Linked DNA regions of Homo sapiens: region 1 is linked to region 2. The links are contacts of gene promoters, found by promoter capture Hi-C in human tissues and cell types (Jung and others, 2019). All regions are on one chromosome and are shown on one strand. The core of a region is centred on a gene start or on the middle of the fragment in contact, and the rest is flanking DNA. Distances in the headings are between cores, read along the strand shown.

Evidence for each region. Contacts are between HindIII fragments. The study calls those that stand out against the background at their distance.
Region 1: a fragment that was not itself captured here is called in contact with the fragment with the promoter of ZNF578 in region 2 in 2 of the 25 tissues and cell types used here (liver and small bowel).

What each region holds. Positions count from the first base shown.
Region 1 is chr19:52,652,792-52,655,647 of GRCh38, reverse strand. LOC122539214 (Zinc finger protein LOC122539214) reads left to right here. Exons shown (of 4, transcript NM_001396016.1): 3 at 1-87; 4 at 1,245-2,856. It also overlaps a transcript of ZNF83 not described here. Among named protein-coding and RNA genes, the nearest start is that of ZNF83, 16 kb to the right of the region's middle. The HindIII fragment of the contact is 5,670 bases long and covers 1-2,856 here.
Region 2 is chr19:52,452,255-52,454,977 of GRCh38, reverse strand. ZNF578 (zinc finger protein 578) reads right to left here and starts at 1,425. Exons shown (of 6, transcript NM_001099694.2): 1 at 1,371-1,425. It also overlaps a transcript of ZNF534 not described here and the pseudogene LOC441862. RefSeq lists an enhancer at 784-1,983. The HindIII fragment of the contact is 17,654 bases long and covers 1-2,723 here.

The sequences.
Region 1 (2,856 bases), core at 336-2,835, 200 kb before region 2:
TGGAGGAGTGGAAATGCCTGAACCCTGCACAGAGGGCTTTATACAGGGCCGTGATGTTGGAGAACTACAGGAACCTGGAGTCTGTGGGTGAGGAAAATGTCCCTCCTGATGTGAGGAATCTGCCCTTGTCTATCTTGGCTCTTCCTGGTTTTGTATTCTCTTTTGTGATTTTGCCGCATACATGCTTTTGATGTACATGTCATTGTTTTCTGCAGTGATGATCCTCCTGTCTGTCATAGACAGCTTCTTAGAGACTATCCTATGGAGTGGTTTTACATAAAAACAGAACATTCATGAACACTTTGACTAATAGAATTGAACGTCATCCTGCTCTAAGCAGAGATGCCCCTGGTAGCCCTGAGCAGAATTGTCAGGGTGGCCCAGGAGATGAGCTAGAAAGCATGACAGTGACTGACAAGTGTTTCCAGCTGTGATTCTGCTTTTGTTTTGTTTTGTTTTTTGAGACAGAGTCTCCCTCTCTTGCTCAGGCTGGAGTGCACTGTTGTGATCTCAGCTCATTGCAACCTCCGCCTCCTGCATTCAAGCAATTCTCATACCTCAGCCTCCCAACCTAACTGGAATTACAGATGCAAGTCACCATGCCTTGCTAATTTTTGTATTTTTATTAGAGATGGGGAATCACCATGTTGGCCAGGCTGGTCTCAAACTCCTTGTCTCAAGCAATCTGCCCACCTCAGCCTCTAGCCAAGTGTTGGGATTACAAACCTGAGCCACCACCCTTGGCCTTTTGTTCTGGTTTTTAAGGAGCATCACAGAAGCATCTCTCACTGGTACTGTGACAGTGATCATCACATAAACTAATGATCATGTTCTCTAAACAGCAGTCACTGCTGTAGAAATTCCTCTTAGGGAGGACATCATTCAGGCTTACTGCATCATATATATGAGGCTCTTGACTGAACTCTGTTTGACATGGAATTTTGCTCTTGTTGCCCAGGCTGGAGTGCAATGATGTGATCTCTGTTCACTGCAATCTCTGCCTCCTAGGTTCAAGAAATTCTCCTGCCTCAGCGTCCTGAGTAGCTGGGATTACAGGCATCCACCACCATGCCTGGCTAATTTTTGTATTTTTAATAGAGACAGGGTGTTCTTAAACTTTGAAGATCATATTTGGGAATTTTAAAATAAGTATTGCTTTTTGTGTAATATTAACACATTTCAGTATTAAATATTATTTACCATCTGTACTTAATTGGAAACCTATTGGTCTTTATATTTTTTAGATAGCTCTTTAAAATCCATGACGGAGTTCTCATCAACAGGGCACGGTAATACAGGAGAAGTGATCCACACAGGGACATTGCAAAGACATAAAAGTCATCACATTGGAGATTTTTGCTTCCCAGAAATCAAGAAAGATATTCATGACTTTGAGTTTCAGTGGCAAGAAATTAAAAGAAATGGCCATGAAGCACCCATGACAAAAATCAAAAAGTTGACTGGTAGTACAGACCGACGTGATCAAAGGCATGCTGGAAACAAGCCTATTAAAGATCAGCTTGGATCAAGCTTTTATTCACATCTGCCTGAACTGCACGAATTTCAGACTGAAGGGAAAATTGATAATCAAGTGGAGAAGTCTATCAACAATGCTTCCTTGGTTTCAACATCCCAAAGAATTTCTTGTAGGCTCAAAACCCATATTTCTAATAGGTATGGGAAGAACTTTCTCCATTCTTCATTATTGACACAAATCCAGGAAGAACACATGAGAGAAAAACCTTTCCAATGTAATGAGTGTGGCAAAGCCTTTAATTATAGCTCACATTTAAGAAGACATCATGTAACCCATTCAGGAGAGAAACAATATAAATGTGATGTATGTGGCAAAGTGTTTCATCAAAAGCAATACCTTGCATGGCACCATAGAGTTCATACTGGAGAAAAACCTTACAAGTGTAATGAGTGTTCCAAGACCTTCGGTCACAAGTCATCTCTTACACGCCATCATAGACTTCATACTGGAGAAAAACCTTACAAGTGTAATGAGTGTGGTAAGACCTTCAGTCAGACGTCATCCCTTGTAGGGCATCGTAGACGTCATACTGGAGAGAAACCTTACAAATGTGAAGGATGTGACAAAGTTTACAGTTGCAGATCACAACTTGAAACACATAGGCGAATTCATACTGGAGAGAAACCATACAAATGTAAGGTTTGTGACAAAGCTTTTAGGCATAATTCATGCCTTTCACGCCATAACAGAGTTCATACTGAAGAGAAACCTTACACATGTAATGAATGTGGCAAGGTTTTCCAGCGTGATTCATACCTTGCACAACATCAGAGAGTTCATACTGGAGAGAAACCTTACACATGTAATGAATGTGGTAAGGTTTTTAATCAAAAAGCACACCTTGCATGTCATTATAGGCTTCATACTGGAGAGAAACCTTACAAGTGTAATGAGTGTGGCAAGACCTTCAGTCAGAAGTCATCCCTTGTGGGCCATCGTAGACTTCATACCGGAGAAAAACCTTACAACTGTCATGAGTGTGGCAAGACCTTTGCTCGAAATTCATCCCTTCTAATTCATAAGGCAATTCATACTGGAGAGAAACCTTACAAGTGTAATGAATGTGGCAAGGTTTTTAATCAACAGTCAAACCTTGCACAACATCAGAGAGTTCATACTGGAGAGAAACCTTACAGGTGTAATGAGTGTGGCAAGACCTTCAGTCATATGTCATCCTTTGTATACCATTATAGACTTCATAGTGGAGAGAAACCTTACAAGTGCAATGAGTGTGGCAAGACCTTCAGTCATATGTCATCCTTTGTATGCCATCATAGACTTCATACTGGAGAAAATCCTTATAAGTGCAATGAGTGTGG
Region 2 (2,723 bases), core at 176-2,675:
GCCTGTTACAAATATCTTCCCTTCACTGAGACAGGAAAAAACCAAACTGTTTTCATTGCTCTCGTGCTCAACACAGGATACTTTACTTCTGGTCAAGAAAATGTGTGGTTTCCCTACACTGACCAGTTCCTTGCAGACTTCCACCTGGGAATCCTAAAATTTAACTCAATTCTTACACTATCTACAAGGAGATAGTGTCAGATCCCATGGGTGAAAAGCTCAGTCCCACAAGACTACCCTTCACCTTAGAAGCTGTACACAAGTAGTAGTTTTCACCTCTACTTCTGACTGACCAGATAAACACCACGGTTCCCAAATCCTCTCCTGCATTCAACTAATTTTCTAGAACTGCTATTCCATCTGTCTATCTGCAACCTTTGTAATATCCTTTAAAACAAATGAGTAAACCCAACTAAAACGTTTCTGAGTTCTGTGAGCTACTCTGGCAAATTAATAAATACTGAAGACTGGGTCATGGGAATCCTCAATTTATATCCAGTAGCTTAGAAGTTCAGGTTCCAATCTGGGACTTGTAACCGACATCTGAAGTGGAGAAGTCTTGTGGACTGAGCCTTTAATCTGTGGGATCCGATGCTTACACCAGGTACAGCTGTCAGAAGTGAGGTAAATTATGGGACACCGAGTTGATGTCTGATAGAGAACTGCTTGTTAGTGGGGAGAAATCCCCACACATTCGGTGACCACAAGTGAAGTATTCTGGGTTCAGTGTTTACTACCGTGTTGAGTTTCAGAGGAGGAAAGAATAAATCAATCGTTTTTCCTCTGGAAGAGCACATTTTCCAGCGGGTGCAATTTGGAACGGAAAAACACTGAGTGTCAAAAGCCAGGCCCCGTCACCTCCCTCAATGCGGGGTAAGGAATGTGGGTTGTGAAGGGGAAACCTGGGGAACACAAGGGCCCAGCCCAAGGAGGACAAGGTTGGGGGTGGATTAGGAGAGGGGTGGGGTTTCCAAAATCCCAGGGCCGGGCAGAGGACACGGCGCTGATGCATCGAGACTGCGGGACCGAGCTCCAAGAGGCCAGAAGGGCGAGGCTTGGAGGACCCACTGGGCGTGAATACACCTCATGGGTGAGGGCTTTTACATGACGCGGGACCGAAGGAGTGGTCAGTAAAGGGTTTTAAGCAGGTAAACGGGACGAAAAGCGTCTACGTGGCCCGAAGGCAGAGAGCTCAGGGAAAGGACCAGCAGCCTCCAAGCGATTTTAACCTCCGAATTTCTTGGCGACGTATTAATATACCTAGGATGGAGGGAACGGCGGGAGGATTTTAAGATCCGTAAGAACCCCTCCGCCAACACCAGGTACAGAAGCGCTGGAAGCGGATCTAATCTAGACAAAGGGAAACTCACCCGCTGCTCCAAGACCGGCTCCCCACGCGATCGGCTTCCGGGTCTTCAGGAAACTGCGCTTGCGAGTTCACGCCCCATGATTCACTTCCGGGTTTCCAGGAAACCGCGCGCAGCTGAGGCCAGGGATGGGCGAGACCCGAGAGAAGAGAGGGTGGGGCGGTGAGGGGCGGGGTCTGCGCTGCCTTCGGCCTGTCTCTGGGCGCGTCTGTTCTCCAGGTTTTTGAGGAAAGACCCTATCGGTGACCAGCAGCCAAGCAGTCTGGGACCTGGGATCTCTATGAGAGGGTCAAAGTAGGGGACAGTGATTGGACCTAAGATAGTTCCTGCAATTAAAGTTAATTTTAGTATTTTAATTTAAAAGCCCTGGAATTGTCTGGGAGAGGAAGCGAACTAGAATATGAAATGCAAAGCCCTGCCTGGGCGGAACATGCAATTTGATGCTGTCGTCCCACAGAACAGAGTAGAAATCCTCTCCTTTTCTATTCCCCCTACACTCTGGAGGGTGAGGATCAACCCTGTGCTCAGCTCCTGACAATTTCCCAGGGACAACGCCTTGGGCATGGAGGGTTAACGCCAGGGATAAGTTAGGTCACCAAATGTTGCTTTTAAAAAGGAAAGCTAAAACTTTTAGATGATAGATATAAATGACTCTTAAACTTTTAAACAATAGATATAAATAGCTCTCCCTTATACCTGTTACTCTATTCCAAACTTCAGATGAATTAACCTCAAACGTCTCTGCGATAAACTTTATTGACATCATAATGTCAATAATTTCGATACGTAGAGTGAATTTCAAATTTACACGCACTCTGAATGTAAATAGAAAAGACGATTTTTGGCTGGGTGTGTTGGCTCATGTTTCTAATCCTAGCACTTTGGGAGGCTGAGATGGGAGGATCACTTGAGGCTAAATGTTCAAGACTAGCCTGGGCAACAGAGTGAGTCCCAGTCTCTCTTATAAAACACACAGGGCCAGGCACGTTGGCTCACGCCTGTAATCCCAGCACTTTGCGAGGCCGAGGCGGGCGGATCACCTGAGGTTGGGAGTTGGAGACCAGCCTGACCAACATGGAGAAATCCTGTGTCTTCTAAAAATACAAAATTAGCCGGGCGTGGTGGCGCATGCCTGTAATCCCAGTTACTCGGGAGGCTGAGGCAGGAGAATTGCTTGAACCCAGGAGTTGGAAGGTGCGGTGAGCAGAGATCGGGCCATTGCCATCCAGCCTGGGCAACAAGAGTGAAATTCCGTCTCCAAAAAAACAAAACAAAAAAAAGAAAACACACACACGCACAAAACAAAAACAAACTTTTTTTTTTAAGTTGCTGAAGGGGTATCATTTCTTGAGTTAA